Regions from separate parts of the Homo sapiens genome. Here all the other regions are linked to region 4. The links are contacts of gene promoters, found by promoter capture Hi-C in blood cells and fetal thymus (Javierre and others, 2016). All regions are on one chromosome and are shown on one strand. Each heading gives the region's core, a stretch centred on a gene start or on the middle of the fragment in contact. The rest is flanking DNA. Distances are from core to core; before and after follow the strand shown. Region 1 overlaps USP34 (ubiquitin specific peptidase 34). Region 2 holds the start of SANBR (SANT and BTB domain regulator of CSR). Region 3 holds the start of REL (REL proto-oncogene, NF-kB subunit). Region 4 holds the start of FAM161A (FAM161 centrosomal protein A). Region 5 holds the start of C2orf74-AS1 (C2orf74 antisense RNA 1). Region 6 holds the start of C2orf74-DT (C2orf74 divergent transcript). Region 7 holds the start of EHBP1 (EH domain binding protein 1).

Region 1 (2,700 bases), core at 68-2,567, 640 kb after region 4:
AATAAGGTAAAAAGATGTTTTTAGTTTTGTCTTGTTTATTTCCAGTGAGATGAGGACCATCCTTTTGATGTTTAAAGATAAATCATTTACATTGGGGAAGCATTTGTGCATGTAGCCACTTTGGAACATTTTGAAGGTTCATGAACTACTTTTAAACAGTTTTTGGTCTGGCTTTGGTTTGTATTTGTGTATGTTTTATCATTTTAGGGTTGAAGGGAACCTTTATGTATAGCCTTCTACCCAAAGCTTGAATAGTCTTGTTTATGGCAATTTATCCTAACTCAGGCTTGATAGTTCAGTTCTAGAGGCCTCCAGGAAGTTTTCTGCACCTTTGGATGAGTCTGTTAATATTTTGCATTCTGTTTAGCCCAAATATATCTATCTGGCTTTCTGATCTATATGACTTGGCCAAAATTATAAAACATAGTCTTTATAATTAATTTTCAGAGCTACAGAAGTTATTGAATGGTTACAGGAACTACTACAAATTACCCTTAATTCCCCTTAACCTAGAGAAATAAAGTTCAGGCTAATTTCTTAAATTCTTCTATGTATTACATCTAAGACTTGGAAGTGTTGTTTTTTATTAGGCACATTTTTTTTAATGGTACTTTACTGAAGACTTCACTGTAATATCTTAAGCTACTCAATCTAAGATGAGGTTATTTCAGATTGTCTTCTTTGGAAAGCTTTCAAATGTGAGTCTTCATTAGTAAACAGGGAAATTAACTACGCCTTTGCCGGATTTCTTAAAGGGATTGTTTTTAAATTTTGGATTAATTTTGAATACAATTGTTTTCCCAAAGTTTACTACTTAAAGCTTTATTTCAAAAAAGATTTAGAGCAGCCTGGGCAACATAGTAAAACCCCATCTCTATATAAATAAATAAGTTAGCAAATAAATTAGGGTGTGACGGCATGCACCTGTAGTCCCAGCTCCTCGGGGGGCTGAGGTGGGAAGATCCTTGAGCCCAAAAGGTGGAAGCTGCAGTGAGCCATGATTGTGCCATTGTACTCCAGCCTGGGTGACAGAGCGAGTCTCAAAAAAAGAAAAAAAAGATTTGGAGCTTTCTTAACTCTTCTTGAAAAAGGAAAGGAATAAAGTAGAAGGATTTCCAGTTGTAGTCTATAACAACATTTTTCTGGTATCTAATGAAAGAAGACCTGTTAACAGTAATATAGCTGTGTGAGTAATTATAGTCATGTGTTGCATAACAACAGGGTTACATTCTGAGAAATAAATTTTTAGCCTATTTCATCATTGTGCAAACATCAGAGTGACTACTCACACACAACTAGATAGTAGCGCCTGCTACACCCCTAGGATATATGGTATAGCCAACTGTTCCTAGGCTCTAAATCTGTATAGCATGTTACTACACTGAATACTGTAGGCAATTATAACAGAAAGGTAAGTATTTGTGTATCTAAACGTATTTAAACATAGAAAAGGTACAGTAAAAATATGGAATAAAAGACAGAAAATGGTACACTTGTGTAGGGCACTTACCATGAATGGTGCTTGCAAGACTGGAAATTGCCCTAGGTAAGCCAGTGAATGAGTGGTGAGGGAATGTGAAGGCCTGGGACATTATTGTACCCTACTATAGACTTTATAAACACTGTACACTTAAGCTACACTAAATTTATTTTAAAATACTTTTTCTTCATTATTAATGTACTGAACTTTTTTTACTTTATAAGTTTTTTTAACTTCTTGATTCTTCTATCGTAGCACTTAAAACACACTATCATAACACTTAAAACACACATTTTATAGCTGAACAAAAGTATTTATATCTTTATAAGCTTTTCATATTTAAATTTTTTTTCTTTTTAAATGTTTTCGTTAAAAACTAAGACATAAACACACACAATTAGGCTAGGCCTAGCAGGGTTGGGATCATCAGTATCTCTGTCTCCCACCTCCACATCTTGTCCCACTTGGGAGGTCTTCAGAGGCAGTAACTAGCTTAGAGCTGTCATCTCCTCTGACAATGATGCCTTCTTCTGGAATCCCTCCTGTAGGGCCTGTCTAAGGCTGTTTTACATTTAACTTTTTTTGAAATAAGTAGTAAAATAATGATAATATAGTAAATACATAAACCAGTAACATAGTCATTTATTAACATTATCAAGTATTAGGTACTGTACATAATTGTGGTATACTTACAAGACTGGCAGTACAACAAGTTTGTTTATACCAGCGTCATCAGAGACATGTGGGTAATGCATTGTGAATGTTACCATGGCTATGAAGTCACTAGGCTAATAGGAATTTATCAGCTCCATTATAATCTTATGGGACCACCATTGTGTTTGTGATCCATCATTTACCACAATTTCATTTTGTGGCACATGACTGTATTTTATAAACTATTTTCAAGGCTGACACGTTTTTAGTATTTTTTTCCTTCATGTTACTCTTTTTTAATTACCAGCTGATGAGTGTTTAGATAATATGGTGAATTTTATGATTATCCAGAATTTAACAATCAGAAGATGAGCCTATTATAAAAATCAACATTGTTTATGTGGAAACTTTAAAAATATTCCCATATCTTCTGCCATTGTAGATAATTAGCAGTTGATTAGATATTAATAGACTTTTTTTTAGTTAGAGTTTATTTAATATTATTTCCTTATGCTGCATTTCCAGGAAACAGATGAAGCAGTCTCTTTTCTGTAGGTAGGAAAGCA
Region 2 (2,700 bases), core at 149-2,648, 790 kb after region 4:
ACATGTTTAAGAGTACTTTAAATCATCCAAATGAGAAAAAAGTTTTTCTGTTGACTTTCTCTTTATACAACTGTACTAGGCAAGGGAAGACCCCCCAGCATTAATTCTAGTTAAATGAATGTCCAAGAAATCAGAGTCTGAATTTAAGTATAAAAGGCATAGCATTGATGGATAATCCTTAATAAAACATAAATTATCTCGAAATAGCTGTTATAGTGCACCTCATTCAGGAAAGTATAAATTTATCAAAAACGGTGACAAGAAAAAGCTCAAAGTTCAAATTACTATGAAATCCACTCCCATTCATAAAATATCAAAATCTTGACAATATTTAAGGTAAAATACGTTATTTACCAAAAATAAAAATCCAATATGTTTAACAGACTTCATTTTTTAAGAACATACTTCCCCTCCCCTCCCCGACCCCCTTCTCTTGGTTTATGTATTTAATATACATGTATTAATTAAGAAGACTAGTCTAAGTCACTTCCACACCAGATAGAGGTCTACAACAGGAATCTGATATATTTTTTTCTTATTTCAAATAGAAAAAAAAGCTCTTGGAGACAGAGACGTTTTCCCTTAGCCAGTGGAAAGATGGGAAGAGAGGGGGCCCCGTGGGGCAGGCAGGCAGGCAGGTCAAAGGCCTCTGGCCTAACAGAGGGCGGCGGTAACACCGAGTCATCCCGGACCGGGAAGAAGCCTTGTACCCAGGCTTCCTGACTTCTGCACACACAGGAGATCGGAGTCAGCTGGAGGAGAAAGTAAAATCACATCCCAGAACCGGCATGAGGTCAAAGCCAGTCAAACCTTGGGCCCGGAGGCTCACTACGCGGCGCGTCCTCGGGGCACCCCCAGACCTTCGCGCCCCGCTCCCGCCCGTGGAGGCACAGAAACTCCAGGGGCGCAGAGCGGACAAAGGCGCCGGGCAGCGGGAGCGAGGCGGGGCAGAGGCCCGGGGCGCGGCCGGGCGCGCAGAAGCTGGGGTTCCCGCCGCTGTGCGCGGGCGGGACGGTCTGCAGGGACATGGACCGGGCGGGTGACGGGACGCGGGCCAGCTGGCTGCTCGAGGCGCGGCCGGCTGAGGCTGTGCACGGGGGCGTTCGGGGGCGTTTGGGCAAGTGGGACCCCGCCCGGGGTGGGAAGCCGCGGCGGGAGCCGGCTGGCTGTGAGCGGTACCGCCCCATGCCGCACTTCCCGCCCCGCGGTGGGCACCCGAGCCCCCTCGGCGTCTCGCTCACCTCCACAGGGCCGCGGCTGCCCTCGCAGCGCCTCTGTTACCTGCAGTGGTCGGCACCGCCCGCGCTCGCGCCCTGAAGCTGCCGCTACCGAGCCCGCAACCCCGTCCGCAGCGCCTCACACCCCGCCCCCGCCCGCTTGCAGGCGGCTGCGGAGACTAGCGCCGAGGGGTGGGGGAGCCGCCGAGCCGACGCCGCCCGGCCAATCGCGGGCCAGCGCCGCAGCGGCGGAGCCAATGAGCGCCGAGCCCCTGCCGGGCGGGAGGGCACCGGAGGGGCGGCGGCGGCTGACTGTCGCCTTGCCTTGCCTGCTGCTTCTCCTTCCTCCTCTGGCATACACTCCCAGGCTTGTCGCAGTGCAGCGTCCCCACCCTCCCAGCGTCTTGTCTCTTAGCAACCAGATCCTAGGAGCCTGATCTTAGGTGACCAACCCTGAGTCCAGAAGAAAGGGGGATATACAGGAGATAAAAGATTAAAGAATGGATGAAATTGTTCTTGGTGCAGATCATTTGGTACACCGCTTAGGTAGAGCGGAAAGATCGCATGATGAGGGACACCGAAAGTATCTTTTAGACCAAGGTCTTTGGGTAAGGACCTGAAGTGTCTTTACCAGGAGGTAGCTCTTTAAAAATGTAAATAGCTCTGGATTACAAATTCGGTTTTCATACATTAATAGGGTGTGTGTGTGTGTGTGTGTGTGTGTGTGTGTGTGTTATTGTGAGGAACACTACTATTGGGCATCTAGTAAAATGCAAACGGCTCAATATTGTAGGGTAACTGCTACATGTCAACATTTCTATCTAATTTCCACTTGGTCTATTCTGAGAACCAAAATTAAATGTTAGGATTAGAAAGAACAGAAAAAGTAAAGCCTTAACCAAATGAATAATTACTACGAGATCTGATGATTAAGTAGAGATTAAGTGGTTCACTGTACAGAATGTCAGGAGTTTTTACCAATTGTATCATCCTGTGACTTTCTGCAGATCTTTTACGATTTTTGTTCCACAAAGACATTAAAGTGGCTGGGTGCGGTGGCTCACACCTGTAATCCCATAATCCCAGCATTTAGGGAGACCAAGACGAGAGGATTGCTTGAGCACAGCCTGAACAACAAAGTGAAACCCTGTCTCTACCAAAAAAAAAAAAAAGTTGTTTTTTTTTTAAGTTAGCTGGGCGTGGTGGCCCCAATGAGCTATGTTTGCACCACTGCACTCCAAGCTGGGCAACAGAGTGAGACCCTGTCAAAAATAAAAATAAAAATAAAGTTAGGCAAGTGTCGTATCATAAGATGTTAGGTTAAGTCAGGTAAATTCTTTTTTTATTTTTTTGAGATGGAGTCTTGCTCTGTTGCCCAGGCTGGAGTGCAGTGGCACCGTCTGGGCTCACTGCAACCTCCACCTCCCTTCAAGCGATTCTCCTACCACAGCCTCCTGAGTAACTGGGATTTACAGGCGCATGC
Region 3 (2,700 bases), core at 110-2,609, 970 kb after region 4:
TTGCTCTGCAATGTTTCTTACAAACTTATTCCCCCCCAAAGGGAGAGATCGAGCATTTATTAAGGGAAAATATATAGTCACATAAGTGATAAAGTTGTATTCATTCCTACTCATTATTTTAAAGCTCGGATATTCTAAAACTCCTCTTTCCCCTTATTTCCAGCGAGGAGGAAGGGGGATTCAACGTCTCTATTCGTCAGATTAGGAACCTTGAGCTTTATCTCACAGTAAAAACTACATTTTTTTTTTTTTTAAATAGAGACAGGGTCTCCCTCTGTCGCCCAGGCTGGAGTGCAGGGGCGCGATCTCGGCTCACTGCAACCTCCACCTCCCAGGTTCAAGCGATTCTCCTGCCTCAGCTTCCCGAGTAGCTGGGATTACAGGCGCGCGCCACCACGCCCCGCTGATTTTTGTATTTTTAGTAGAGACGGGGTTTCACCATGTTTGCCAGGCTGGTCTCAAACTCCTGACCTCTGGTTATCCACCCGCCTCGGCCTCCCAAAGTGCTGGGAATACAGGCATGAGCCACCGCGCCCGGCCTACACTTGGTCGAAGCAACATTAACACTTAAAATACCACGGATTTTCTAATTCGTGTTAAAATACCACGGATGATTTTTAAAGCCGTGACACATTTTGTACAACTGTCAGTACAAGGGGGATCACCTCTTTGCATTTGATGAAATTAAACTAAAAAGGGGGAGAGAGCTTGCCCGAGGTCTGAAGGTTCCTCATTCCTGTTCTAAAACATAAAACCACCATCTTCAATACATATACATTTTTAATGAGAACTCTTCGTCCTCCTTTGGTTCGCTTATGACTTCCCTAATCCTAAAATCAAGTCGTTGGGAATTTCTAAGGTTCCTGCTATGACAACAGGATCGAATTACAGAGCGTGGCTTGGATTCTGCACGCAAACCCTGAAGCAGGTAACTTTTTTAAAAGCTGACAATTTTACCATATGAGATTTTAAAGACAGAACGCGCCCCAGCAAAAACTGAGCTCCCTAAACTCACTGCGGCAGGACCCCCTTCAGAAGAGCTCCTTTCCCCCGGCCCAGGCCCGCGCCCCATGAACACTCACCGGAGGCCATGGCTCCGCTCCCCGCACCTTCCCGCAGGCAGCTCCCAGCGTCCTGGCCGGAGGCGGCCGCAGTCAGTCAGTCAGGAGGCCGAGGGACCTCTGCCGGCGGGGCCCCCAGTCCCCCGACCACCCTAGAGGCCTCCTCCTTCTTCCCGCCCTCCGCTGGGTTTGCGGCTCACACCTTCCCAACCCCTGAATTCTTGCACCCCGGGTCACCCAGCGTCGCCGTCCACCGTACGGGAGCCAGGGGCAGGGGGCGGAGCGGGGAGAGCCGAGTGCTGGCCCAGCCGAGAGGCGAGCAGCCTGGCGGGAGGGGAATTTCCCGCGGCTGACGTAGGCCCGACGCAGCAACCCTCACCCGGAGGCGTGGGCGGGGCGACCTCGCGGCCGCCGCGCGCGCGACCGCCCCCAGCGCCCCGCCCCTGCCTGTCCCCGCGCACGCTCCCCGCCGGCCCCCACGCATACGCCCCCGGCGCTGCTGCGGCGGCTGGCTTGGGAGGGGGTCGAGGGAGCGGGAGCTTGGGGTGGGCTTCGGGAGCGCAGGGAACGGCGGGAGCCGGGAGGTGACGGCTAGCAGCGTGAGAAGGCCGCTGGCTCCTGAGAAATCCCCCTCCTCCAGGTTGTTCTTCCGAGTGTGGTTTAAAGTTCAGGAGCGGGCGGGAGGGTGCGGATGACGTAGAGAGGGCCGGCCGCTGGGGAGCTTTTGGGGGCGCGCGGGGCCGACTCTCCCGGCCTGGGAGGGCGACGGCCGGGGTTTTCGAGAGGTGGTTCCCCCTCTTCCCGACTTCGCACATGCAAATCTCCACCCCCGCGCCAGCGGCGGGACGTTGCGCCCTGTAGGGGGAAGTGGTGCTGCGGCGGGGGTCCTGTCTTCTTCTGTAATTCCTGTATTTGCATACGGGGACCCCCCCCCCGACTGATTTTTTTTCCTCCATCTAAATTGCGAGGGTACTGTGAACTTTACGTATTTTACCTACTGAAACCCGTTTAAACTCAAAAGGTCCGCACTTGGAGTTCGTTGTCTCATTAGGCAGTGCACTGAAGTTTAGTGGACACTATATCCTGAGATTTCACACAGATGCCAAGAAAGGCGGAAATGGAGCACACATTTAGTGCATTAAAGGACCTAGGATAACTTCGTTTCCTTCATTTGAATAGTACCTGCTATGCATCAGATAATGTCCATACTTAATCTATGACGTATTTATTATTCCTAACTTTATAGATGAAGTATTCGGGGTTCAGAGAAGTTACTTCAACATACAGTACTTCAGAATGCTGATAAAAGGCACAGTTTAAAGCCAGGGTTGTCTGACTCCAAAGCTCCATGCCCTTGCCCCTGTCCCTTACTAGTTAAAATTAGTACGGAGAGGTAATGGGGAATATCAGCCTGCCATACAAGTGCCCAAAACTGGGGGACCCATATGGGCAAATAATTTAAAATATCCTGCCAACCCCAAACTGTTCTTTCCACGAAATGCGCAATGTACAACAAAAGAATGAAACAGTTTTATTATTGGATATGTACTAAAACGTACCATGATGCACATCACAGGCAATCCACTGAAGAGAGTGCAAAGACCAAAAAAAAGGAAATCTCACCTTTTCATATGGTCAG
Region 4 (2,770 bases), core at 170-2,669:
GGTGGTGAGACGGAGTCTTGCTTTATTGCCCAGGCTGGAGTGCAGTGGCGCCATCCCGGCTCACTGCAACCTCCGCCTCCCGGGAGTGCGCCTGTAATCCCAGCTACTCCGGAGGCTGAGGCAGTTTTGTAGCCACAAAACTGGCTGCCGTGTCTGACTGGAAATTGCTCCCCTGGAAACTTGGCCACACCTGGCGGTGCATATCTCATGGTTCTGGCTCTGGCTTCTGCTTAGAACCCAGTCAGCATCTGTTCCAGCATGGGAAGCAACTGTTCAGCTAAAACCAAGAGCAGCCTGAAGGAAGTGGGGACGTAGGAGACTTTGTAGGTGCTCACACCCAGACAGGAGAACAAAGGTTTGGTAAGGGCTCAGACCTTAGAGACGGGTTCTCGACGATGTGCAGCGCATAACGAGGAAAATACTGACCGGAGGGGGCCGGTCGTAGGGCTGGGGAGCAGGAGGAGGGCAAAGGATAGAGAGGGGGTAGATAGGGAGTAGATAGGGGGCGGCAGCCTCGGCCTCAGTAAGCAGGGGCTCAGGGAGCAGATGTCTGAGACTGCACCACGTCCGCTATTTTGAGGTTTGGCTTCTCTTACTGCCACGTGGTGCAGAGGGAAGGCGCCATTTGATGCGTCCAAATCCCGAGTGGGAAGAGAAGATACGGATGAGGGAGATGGATGTGTCTGTGGTGACTCTTGGGCACTTGTGCCGTTCAATCCTGTCACTCTCAAGCTGAAGAACCCAAAGCAAACGCCAGGTTTACAATACCTGCACTATCACTCATTAGTGGGAGGGTCAGGCGCCACCCAACTCTGGGCTTTTATTGGTCATGTCAAGAAAAAAGCGAGAGGGACAACTGGGAGCCTCCTTCTGATTGGTGGATTCCTGCTAGCCCTCAAGTCAATCAGAGTAGAATGTACCGCCCTCCTTCCCACTCTGGCCCCCGCGGGAGACATGTTAGGTAGCGGGACGCCAACCTTGTCACTCTTCTGAGACCGCCACCCAGTAACACGCCCTGCTTTCCTCCGCCGCCGCCGTCTCCTCCATCAACTGTCTCCTTCTAACATGTTATTGCAGTTAATAAAAAAGCGTTCTTTTCTTCACAAAAGCAGTTGTTTCATTGTATAATGTGAGAAGTCTGCGTTCAGGCGGTTAGACGCAAAGGAGTGGAATAAGTGCCCTGTTCAGCCTGCCAACCTTCGGAACCAGCCAACAGACTCGGTACTGACTGCCATGATCCAGTAAGCACCCGACTCGGGTCTCTGGCAGCCTGAGTGGATTTTGCGTGACTTTTGGTCCCTGGCGGCTCCTGTAGCGTCCCCAGTTACGGCGCCCATAGCAACCGGCTCCCTAGCTAGGCGCCCCCGGGTTGCCAGGGGCCGCACCAGCTTTCCCGTCCCGGGCCAGCGCAGGCGCTCAGGCCTCGGAGGCGGGGCGATGGCCACCTCCCACCGAGTGGCGAAGCTGGTGGCCTCCAGTCTCCAGACCCCGGTAAATCCCATCACTGGAGCGCGGGTCGCCCAGTACGAACGCGAAGACCCCTTAAAGGCCCTGGCGGCAGCGGAGGCGATCTTGGAGGACGAAGAGGAGGAGAAAGTGGCTCAGCCCGCTGGGGCATCGGTAATACTGGGGCGGGACTTGGGCTGGGACCTCGCATGGGCTGGGTGCAGGCTGAGGGCTGTCCGGTTCCCCGCCCAGCTGAGGGCAGGCTGGTAAACGCGGGTCCCTGTGCACATAGTCCCTACTTGGTGGTCCTGGCCCAGCCCCTTCTCTACGCTCACGAAAATTACTCTAAATCGAGGCGTTGAAAAGTGTTTTAATTTTCACCAGTCTGTTGTAAAAGCTTCCTAGACAACATTTATGTTACTCTGCTTCTGGCAAGTGCAAAGTATAGAATTTTACTCTCTACTCTCCAGCATCTCGGGAATGGATATATAGAGATATATCTGGCTATATATAGTAATTTGAGGAAAACTGTTCTGTCAGGTGTGTTTCGTTATTACCTTAAGATCTTGGTTATAAGCGGATCTCAACATAGTGCTCTAAAGATGTGTGTTTAAAACCATCACGTGTTCACTGGCTAAATCAGACACGGATACAGATAAGCAAATCACTGAGGTTTCAGTGTTTCCTAAACAGCTCTTTAGGGTACAGCGAGACGGCCTTTTCACTGATCAGTTTTCATTGTTAAATCTGTTGTGGACACCAGTCCAGCAGGTAGAGGGCAGGGTCTGCCATCTGCTCAATTCACTTAAAAGATGGGAATCTTGGCCGGGCGCGGTGGCTCGTGCCTATAATCCCAGCACTTTGGGAGGCCGAGGTGGGCGGGTTACGAGGTCAGGAGTTCGAGACCAGCCTGACCAACATGGTGAAACCCCGTCTGTACTAAAAATACAAAATTTAGCCGGGCGTGGTGGTGCGCCCCTGTAATCCTAGTTACTCGGAAGGCTGAGGCAGGAGAATCGCTTGAACTTGGGAGGTGAGGGTTGCAGTGAGCTGAGATCTCAGACCCAGTCTCAAAAAAAAAAAAAAAAAAAAAAGATGGGAATCTTGAATTTAAACTAGCAATCTGCAGATAGAAAAAATTTCCTAATACCATGTGTCCAAAGCTTCTCAGACACCAAACTTATGATTGAGGACTAACTGAAATCACTGGATATTTTGGAATTCTGATCTCTTTAATCTACAGTAAAATTGTTAATGAGAACATCTTTAGCAACACCTTTTGTGACCAATCTTTCACCAACAGACAAACAACTTGAAGTTATCC
Region 5 (2,722 bases), core at 88-2,587, 680 kb after region 4:
GAGCAGGACAGTAAGCAAAATAGTTTTGTAAAGCAAGTTTCAGTGCCTTGGGGAAAAATAAAGTAGGGAAGAAAGATGGCACAAGGCAGGAGTCTCCAAGGATGCACAGAGATGGCTTTACTCAGGACAAAGACCTGAAGGAGGCAGGCAGCTACCTGGGGGAAGAGTGCTCCAGGCAGCAATGCCGGGAGACTCCTGTTCACAAGGGCCTGGTAGAAGAGGGCCCAGCTGACAGCAATGAGCTCTAAGCAGCTGCGAGTGCTGCGAGAAGGGAAATCCCCATCCTTCTTGGCCCATGGAACTCAAGTGTGGCCAGAGTGTCAGGATCTACCAACGCTGATTCAGGAGCCAGTCAGTGTGCCAGGCCCATAGCAGGGGCTGTAAAAACATTCGCTGAATGATGAACGCACTTTGTCCCCAGCCCCACTAGTACCCTGAGGCCCCTGTTACCTTTCCAGCCCAGTTTGATGTTCCACTCATAGAAGAAAATCAGCTTTCCTTTGCGGCTGCTGCACGAAGCCTCCCCTTCCACCTGCTTCAACTCGTTGATCTCGCCGCGGCCAGCGTCATTCTCCACAACGATGCCCACCAGGAGCTCCTGGAACTTCCCTTTGGACAAGCTGGTGGCATCCCGCTCTGTCCTGCCAGGGACCAGAAAGTCGTGAATGGAAGCCCCAGCTGGGATCCACCTGCCTGGGTGCCAGGGTCACGTCCAAGCCCAGCCCAGATCGGCCCAAGTCCTCTCAAGCAGCCTCGAAACCTGCCAACCTCCAATGTGCTCCTCAAACCTGCTTTCTATCAAATTCTTTTCATCCTGCTCAGTTCTTTAAGATATTATTGTCCACTATGCAAGTAGTATTCTGTCTTAAAAACACTGGCTTATTTAAGGGAGGAGGATCTAGCTAGCTCGCCCACTGGAAATAGGCAAAGCCTAGGCCACAGGGAAAGTAGCAGTAGTGAACTAATCAGAATCATGACAATACCAGCTATCAAGTGTCTTCGCATATACATCGTCTAATGTAATCTTCCCAGGCAATATTCTCACTTTAGGGGACAGAAACGAGCTGAGAGAAATGACATGTCCATCGGGCCAAGGCTAGGACACTAGAAAGTCAGATCTAGCTCACGCCTGTAATCCCAGCACTTTAGTAGGCCCAGGCGGGCGGATCACGAGATCTGGAGTTCGAGAGCAGCCTGACCAACATGGTGAAACCCTGTCTCTACTAAAAATACAAACATCAGACGGACGTAGTGGCACGCATCTGTAGTCCCAGCTACTCATGAGGCTGAAGCAGGAGACTCGCTTGAACTCTGGAAGCTGAGGTTGCAGCGAGCCAAGATTGCCCATGCCCTCAGAGCTCCTCCGGACCAGCCAAGTCATGCTCCTCTGGGGACCGGCCTCAGCATCCCCTCGACGGCCTGGAGGGACCACAGCCCCGGCCAGAGGCGCAGGGCAGAGGACATCCCTTCCGGAGGTTCTGCGGCGGAGGGCTGCCGACCTCTCCCCACGCGCCAGGTGAGGCGCGTAAAGGAAGGGGAGCTTGTCTCACTCACAGAGGGCCCGGCTCGCGGGAGGCGCCTGCGGGGTGGGCGCGAACTGAGATCCAAATTTCTGCCCTTTCCACTACGTTCCATACCCCCGCCCCTAACACAGTCTCTCAATCCAGCTCCCTTCTAACTCCCCGAAACATCCAGAGGGGTGGGCGGGAGGAGAAGGGAAGGCCCTCAGGCCACAGACGGTGGGAGTGGAAAGGTCTGTCGGAAGTCACTCTTGGGGCCCAACCCAACTTTCAAAAAGAGGCAGCTGCAACCCTCCTAGCCGGTCTCCGTACTCAAGGACTCTCCCGAGCCGAGAGGCGAAGGCCGAGCCCTGCGTCCAGCAGCTGAGGGGGGGCGGCCCCCTGACCCCCTGGCCCCGCGGCCCCGCACAGACCCCAGGGCAGCCCCGGCTCCCGCGGCCCGGCCCTCCCCAGATCCCGGAAGGAGGCCGCCGCCAGCCGCGCCAGCGCCAGTTGTTCACGTTGGTCCCGTCCTCCCGCTCCTCCACGATCCAGTGGGGGTTCCCCTGGCCCCACTTGGCCATGGCGGCGTGGACTGGGCGGAAAACAAGGAAAGGCCGCGGCGCCTAAGGCTCCGAAGCCAGCGTTTCCGGCCGCCGAGCCCCGGGGCGGCGCGTTCGCAGCTCCCAGAAACTGCCAGAAGGCCCCGCCCCCGGCCCCGCCCCGCCCTGCCGCGGCGCGCCCGGGAGCCCCAGCCGGGATCTGGGAGGCGGGTCGCGCGGGGACGCGGGGACGCGGGGACGCGCGGGCGGGGAGGGGCTGGGGCCGCCGGGGTTCCGCTGCGCGTCTCCTAACGCTAGGGCGGGACGGGGCTGTCTGGGCCGCCTGCGAAGGGCGGAGGGCGCTGCAAGTCCCGCGGTGCTGGCGGGCTCGTGATTCCCGGCGCCGGGAAGCAGGGCGCTGAGTAGCGGGTGCCTGAGAGTCCAACCGGCAGTGTAGACGCGACACCGCCGTCAGGTGGCCTCGGCAGGCTCCCTATAGCTCTCGAGGACACGACCTCGAACGCCCAGGTCGCTGTAAGACCGGCCTTTGGGGCCACAGCGCGCACACGTCACACCGTTTGCGGATTTCGCCTAAGAGCGAGTCCGCGCCCAGTTGCCGCGCTGCGGTTTTTTCCGCGACGCAGTCTCTCGCCCTCCCCCCTTCCCGGCACCTTTCCAACT
Region 6 (2,700 bases), core at 108-2,607, 710 kb after region 4:
ACTCTCATTTATCCTTTTCTACACAAAAAGCATAATTTATACACTGTTTGGCACCTGGGCTTTTTTCGCTTAGTAAGATATGCTAGAGATGGTTCCACATTAGTATGTTGGGAACTGATTCCTCACTCTTTTTCATAGCTGCATAATGTTCCATTGTGTGTATGTACTGTAGTTTATAATATCAGTCTTCTGATGGATACTCACGTAGTTTACAACCTTTTGCTATTACAATCAATAATCTCATACACATATTACTTTACATGTATGCAAGTGTATTTGGAGGCAAAATTCCCCAAAGTGGGATTGTTGGATCAAAATGCAAATATTATTCAGTGTGGTTTTGATAACCACTAAGGATTGCTGCATTCTGCTCCTACTAGCACTGTAACACTGCACCTGTTTTCCTGACACCCTCCTATATTGAGTATATTACCAAACGTTTCAATGTTCACCAATCATGATGATTTGCATTTTTATTAAAACTGAAGCTGGCCTGTAATCCTAGCACTTGGTGAAACTGAGGTGGGAGGATTGCTTGGGCTTGGGAAGTGGAGGCTGTAGTGAGCTGTGATCGTGCCACCTGTCTCAGAAAAAATAAAATACAAAACAGGCCGGGCGCGGTGGCTCACGCCTGTAATCCCAGCACTTTGGGAGTCTGAGGCAGGCCGATAACCTGAGGTCAGGAGTTCGAGACCAGCCTGGCCAACATGGTGAACCCCATCTCTACTAAAAATATAAAAATTAGCCTGGCGTGGTGGCACCTGCCTGTAATTCCAGCTACTCGGGAGGCTGAGGTGGGAGAATCACTTGAACCCGGGCAGCGGAGGGTGCAGTGAGCCGAGATTGCATTACTGCACTCCAGCTTGGGCAACACAGGACTCCATCTCAAAAAAATAAATAAATAAATAAAAAACACAAAAACATGCAGCTAAGCATCTTTTCATATATTTAAAGTCTATTTTTAACTACTATTTTTCTGTGAACTTGGTACCCCAGTACTTCGCCCATTTGTCTAATGCACTGCTGCCTGTTAATTCTTAGATATTTTAAATGAATATTTAATATATTTATATTTGGAAAAACTTATCCAAGGACAAAAGATGACGCTAAAACTCCTGTTATAAAACGAACATACCAGCCTTTCCCCCACGAGTCTGGAATCCGGCCAGAGCAGGATTTTAAGACTCTCGGACGACGTCAACATGTCCTCGGATCTGACTGCGCAGGCTCCAAATAGCTCGCCCGAACCCTAACATCTGTGTGCGCATGCTCGCTTGATTCCTAGCGGAAAGTTTGTGTGCGCATGCTCCAAGGAGCCGCGCCCCATCGGCTTCCCTAACGGAAAATCCGCTGCGCATGCTCATAAACCTGCTCTCCTAGGAGACCTGAAGGCTGCTTCCGCTAACCCGGGCTGGCGCTGCTAACCTCACCCAACGATCCCTGCTGTCGGAAAATGTCCAGAGGCACCATCCCTGCTATGAAGAGGGAATGCCAGTACAACAGCCACAAGGGGTCTTCCTGTGGCCCTCAAACAAAAAATCACTGCATTACATCAGCAGGTATTCAGCACCTGGCCCCCTCCAAACGGTGTCTAAAGCGAGTTTTAAAAATTAATGCTAGGGGCGGGACGGCGGGGGCGGAAAAAAATAAAAAATTAAATTACTTAAATTTTTTTCTCTTTTTTTAAAGAGTCGGATTCTCGCCCTGTTCCCCAGGCTGCAGTGCAGTGGCGCGATCTCGGCTCACTGCACCTCCGCCTCCCGGACTCCAGCAATTCTCCTGCCTCAGCCTCCTGAGTAGCTGGGATTACAGGCGCGCGCCACCACACCCGGCTAATTTTTTGTATTTTAGTAGAAACGGAGTTTCACCGTGTTGCCCAGGCTGGTCTCAAACTCCTGAGCTCAGGCAGTCCACCCGCCTCGGCCTCCCAAAGTGCTAGAATTACAGGCGTGAGCCACCTCACCCGGCCAAATTACATTAATATTTTATATTGAGGAGGAAGTTGGTTACAAAGGACTTTCAAAAGTGTCGGGGTTAATAATCTGCATATTTTAAAATATTCCAGGCCGGACGCGGTGGTTCATGCCTGTAATCCCAGCACTGTGGGAGGCCGAGACGGGCGGATCACGAGGTCAGCAGATCGAGACCATCCTGGCTAACACGGTGAAACCCCATCTCTCCTAAAAATACAAAAAAATTAGCTGGGCGTGGTGGCGGGCGCCTGTAGTCTCAGCTACTCGAGAGGCTGAGGCAGGAGAACGGCGTGAACCCGGGAGGCGGAGCTTGCAGTGAGCCAAGATCGCGCTACTGCACTTCAGCCTGGGCGACAGAGCGAGACTCCGTCTCTCTCTCTCTCACGCTCTCTCTCTATATATATATTCCATAGACTGCATTGGAGAGAAAGGCGCCGGGACAGAAAAGCCTGAGATAAACCACCTGTCATTCTTGGAGAAAAGGATGCTGCGGCTTTCCCGATTTGGTTGATGAGATGGAAAATCAACCCTTACAGGAAGGACATCACCAATTCCGGAAAGGATGCTGCGCCAGTCATGTTTCCGCACTCTGTGAGACGTTGAAATCTCCAGAAGTTGCCCAAGGTTTTCAAGCTGAACACAGGAGAAATGACTCTGGATCTCTGAGGACTGTTTTCCTCAATAAGGAGCTGCAATCTTGGCTCCACCACCCTCCCTCCAAAACATC
Region 7 (2,700 bases), core at 75-2,574, 850 kb before region 4:
TTTAAAAACTCAACTACAACTCGAAATGATGCTTGGGGTCCATAAGTCTTCTCCCTGTTTCACAGGGTAAATCCCATCTTAGATGAATGGCCCAGTCAAGAACACTATGATATACGTGACAGGATGAGTGGGAAGGGGTTCCCTCATGGAGACATCACCATGCCACCTCAGGGGCTATATGATGGGTATTCTGGAGGGCTGAAAAGCAAAACAAAGACAAAAAGAGAAAGAATATGAGGAGAGAATCATGAGAAATGACTAACCACCCATGTTAAATAACGCTGCAAAAGACCATCCCAGTTCTCTGCATGTCTTTTAAACAATGAAACAAAACACTGACCTCAAAAGCCAGTAACATCAAGGATGCAAGACACCAAGGAAGAAATTACAATTCACACCGAAGACGTGGAGCGACACATCAGGTAGTCAGCACCAACAACAATCCAGAGAGACGGTAACTCGGGGCCCTACCTCCCCCTGTTAGCATCACTGAAGGGCGAGCAGAGCGGGAAAGTCTAGGGATGCTGTTTAATGTCCACCGCCAGAAAGAGGGAGAAGTGGAGTATTTTTTAATAAACTTTGTTTTTCAGTCGATAATTAATAGCCTCAAGTCCGACAATATGTGCTTGGAACAAATTAGGGAGCCAGGAGGAATGCTATTTTTCAGTCGGAGGGAGGAAATGGATGGGGAACGAGGAGTGGAGGGAAATCTCCAGGCAGAGAGAGGGCAATGTCCCGGCTCCAGGCCACTTGGGCTCCTTCGCTGCCAACCGGAGGGAAATGGAAACTCCTGCCTGGGGGTGAAGCAATGACCAGCGGGGCAAGTGGACTGTGCAGGGTGCGGTGCCTCCCTCCCCCATCCTCAGGGAAACAGTCCGCCGGAGCCCAGTCTCCTCACGCACGGAGCCCAGACCCCTGCCCCCCAGCGGAGACAGGCGGTGGCTCGTCCGCGGTCCCTGTCACCCAGGCGATACCAGAAGACCCCAGCCCGGACCCCGAGCCCCGGCCCCGCCGCTCGTCCACTCCCGCCCCCTCCTCACACCTCTAATCCCGCTGTCGGGCTGAGTCTGGCCCCGTTCCCTTCTCATAGCCGCTCCTCCGTCGCCGCCGCAGCAGCAGCCGCCGCCGCCACCGAGTCCTCCATCCCCGCCGGAGCCACATGGAACAGCCAAGCCAGCCACGGCGCTCGCGGTAGCCGGGATCTGCAGCCCCTCAGGCGGACGGCGCCCCTCACGCCCACCCCCTCCCTGACAGATCGCCCCGCGACCGTCCCCCACCCTACCAAGCCCTGCCAGAGCCACCGCTCAGCGCCCAGCACCCCCTCCCCCGCCTTTCTCCTCCGCCACCATCATCATTACCTCCCCCGCCGCACCTCTCACACTAACCCTACCCACGGCAGCTCAACCTCCACCGCCCCGCCGCCATTGGCCAGGCCCCGCGCGTGCCCCGCCCACCTCGGCGGCCGGGTCTTACAGCGGCTGGGGCACCTCATTGGTAGAACTGCCTGCCCATCACAGGGGCTCCGCCTTGCCCTTGCTCGGGAGGTGGTTTTTCCCCGAAGCCGGAATGCGACGCACAGGCTACCTTTTTTTTAAAAAAAAAAAGAAGGAACCGACTAAGGACGATCCCGCCCGTTCTTCTGATTGGCTTGGAGAGGGAAGCGATAGGCGGGAGGAATAGGGAGTGTTTATAGTGAACTGCAAGGTGATTGCAGAAGGTGGCTGTCCGTCAAAGGCGCCGCTGGTGCGGGGCTGGGTTTCTGGCCCCTAAGGGTGATTGCAGACCTAGAGATTGGCTTCGCTGCAGCTGTGGGCAGTGCAGCTGCCTGTGGGTTTCTCTCCTGTTCTCATCTCCGCCAGGACCTGGGCGCGCCCTCTCCTCCGCCACTGGCAACTAGGGTTTTTGCGCATAGCCTTTATTTCACCAGTTCCTCCTGGGATCTTACCTGACAACCTGAAGTAATGACCCTGTCAGGCACCCCCCGACACCCCGGCCGCTCCCCGCCCAACATAGAGTCAACTGGTCTTCAGTGGGATTGAATCAGCTGAGCTAGACACAAAATGTGTACAGTACAATTTCTTATTGTTCGGAGTCTTCAACATTTCTTTGAATCTTGGTTTCCTCTTCGCTGTCGGACTCTTTTGCCCCTAGTGAGAACTGTAGATGGATTTGGGAACAGCTAGCATATAAAAAGGGTGGTCAAAGGCAAAAAGGAGGAGGCAGAGTGAGGGCAGGGACACTCAATCTTGTTAAAAGAGCCAAGGGCCCTTTTGAGAATATGAAAGCTACAGATACTTTCTCAAGGGGGAAAAAGTGTTCTGTCTCAAAACACAAAAAATTGTTTTCAGTTTTAGGTGGTTCACAGACCCCTGGTGTGGAGAAAGAGGACAAAGAATGAAACTTCAGGGGAATCCTAGCATCTAAGGAATAAACAGAGTAAAATGGGAAAGAGACCGAGAAGGAATAATCAGAGAAGTAGGCGCATCAGCAAGCTATGGGCAGACAGTTTGGAAAAAAAAGAGAGGCAAGCTAACATAAAAAGAAAGCAAGCGGGATGGGTTCTGGAAACAAGGATCATTCAATCTTACGAAGGTTGGAAAGCAGGGTGCATGGACAAAGTAGCTTGAAAGGTGTTAGGGTCTAGGGAGGATTCTTTCAGGGACAGGAAGAGAGAGCAGTGATGGGTGAGAATTGAGTCCA

What was found. Contacts are between HindIII fragments. The CHiCAGO score rates a contact against its expected background, and 5 or more counts as called.
Region 1: a contact is called between a fragment that was not itself captured here and the fragment with the promoter of FAM161A in region 4, in 1 of 17 cell types (M1 macrophages). The highest score is 6.0, in M1 macrophages.
Region 2: the fragment with the promoter of SANBR here is called in contact with the fragment with the promoter of FAM161A in region 4 in 1 of 17 cell types (activated CD4 T cells); the score reaches 5.0 in activated CD4 T cells.
Region 3: a contact is called between the fragment with the promoter of REL here and the fragment with the promoter of FAM161A in region 4, in 1 of 17 cell types (non-activated CD4 T cells). The highest score is 6.1, in non-activated CD4 T cells.
Region 5: a contact is called between the fragment with the promoter of C2orf74-AS1 here and the fragment with the promoter of FAM161A in region 4, in 11 of 17 cell types (fetal thymus, total CD4 T cells, total CD8 T cells and 8 more). The highest score is 20.5, in fetal thymus.
Region 6: a contact is called between the fragment with the promoter of C2orf74-DT here and the fragment with the promoter of FAM161A in region 4, in 14 of 17 cell types (naive CD8 T cells, total CD4 T cells, activated CD4 T cells and 11 more). The highest score is 22.4, in naive CD8 T cells.
Region 7: a contact is called between a fragment that was not itself captured here and the fragment with the promoter of FAM161A in region 4, in 2 of 17 cell types (monocytes and total CD4 T cells). The highest score is 6.9, in monocytes.

Annotation. Positions count from the first base shown.
Region 1 is chr2:61,209,078-61,211,777 of GRCh38, reverse strand. USP34 (ubiquitin specific peptidase 34) reads left to right here. Exons shown (of 80, transcript NM_014709.4): 69 at 1-6. Among named protein-coding and RNA genes, the nearest start is that of C2orf74-AS1, 32 kb to the right of the region's middle. The HindIII fragment of the contact is 989 bases long and covers 823-1,811 here.
Region 2 is chr2:61,064,569-61,067,268 of GRCh38, reverse strand. It overlaps SANBR (SANT and BTB domain regulator of CSR), which reads right to left and starts at 1,398. Exons shown (of 22, transcript NM_001129993.3): 1 at 1,242-1,398. RefSeq lists silencers at 799-858, 869-1,218, 1,249-1,618 and enhancers at 508-1,007, 1,008-1,509. The HindIII fragment of the contact is 4,406 bases long and covers 1-2,700 here.
Region 3 is chr2:60,880,233-60,882,932 of GRCh38, reverse strand. It overlaps REL (REL proto-oncogene, NF-kB subunit), which reads right to left and starts at 1,359. Exons shown (of 10, transcript NM_001291746.2): 1 at 1,083-1,359. The coding sequence starts at 1,092. It overlaps REL-DT (REL divergent transcript), which reads left to right and starts at 1,619. Exons shown (of 3, transcript NR_033980.1): 1 at 1,619-1,701. RefSeq lists an enhancer at 947-1,616 and a silencer at 1,225-1,764. The HindIII fragment of the contact is 7,860 bases long and covers 1-2,700 here.
Region 4 is chr2:61,852,709-61,855,478 of GRCh38, reverse strand. It overlaps FAM161A (FAM161 centrosomal protein A), which reads left to right and starts at 1,419. Exons shown (of 7, transcript NM_001201543.2): 1 at 1,419-1,620. The coding sequence starts at 1,438. RefSeq lists enhancers at 226-275, 1,016-1,245, 1,486-1,645, 1,806-1,935. The HindIII fragment of the contact is 5,666 bases long and covers 1-1,845 here.
Region 5 is chr2:61,176,900-61,179,621 of GRCh38, reverse strand. C2orf74-AS1 (C2orf74 antisense RNA 1) reads left to right here and starts at 1,337. Exons shown (of 2, transcript NR_183879.1): 1 at 1,337-1,516. It also overlaps the pseudogene AHSA2P. RefSeq lists a silencer at 1,882-2,431. The HindIII fragment of the contact is 7,287 bases long and covers 1-2,722 here.
Region 6 is chr2:61,143,632-61,146,331 of GRCh38, reverse strand. It overlaps C2orf74-DT (C2orf74 divergent transcript), which reads left to right and starts at 1,357. Exons shown (of 2, transcript NR_036496.1): 1 at 1,357-1,559; 2 at 2,387-2,700. It also overlaps a transcript of C2orf74 not described here. RefSeq lists enhancers at 1,179-1,528, 1,223-2,144. The HindIII fragment of the contact is 8,178 bases long and covers 1-2,700 here.
Region 7 is chr2:62,704,395-62,707,094 of GRCh38, reverse strand. EHBP1 (EH domain binding protein 1) reads right to left here and starts at 1,382. Exons shown (of 23, transcript NM_001142616.3): 1 at 1,043-1,382; 2 at 1-198. RefSeq lists silencers at 1,046-1,125, 1,246-1,505 and an enhancer at 1,536-1,675. The HindIII fragment of the contact is 7,077 bases long and covers 1-2,700 here.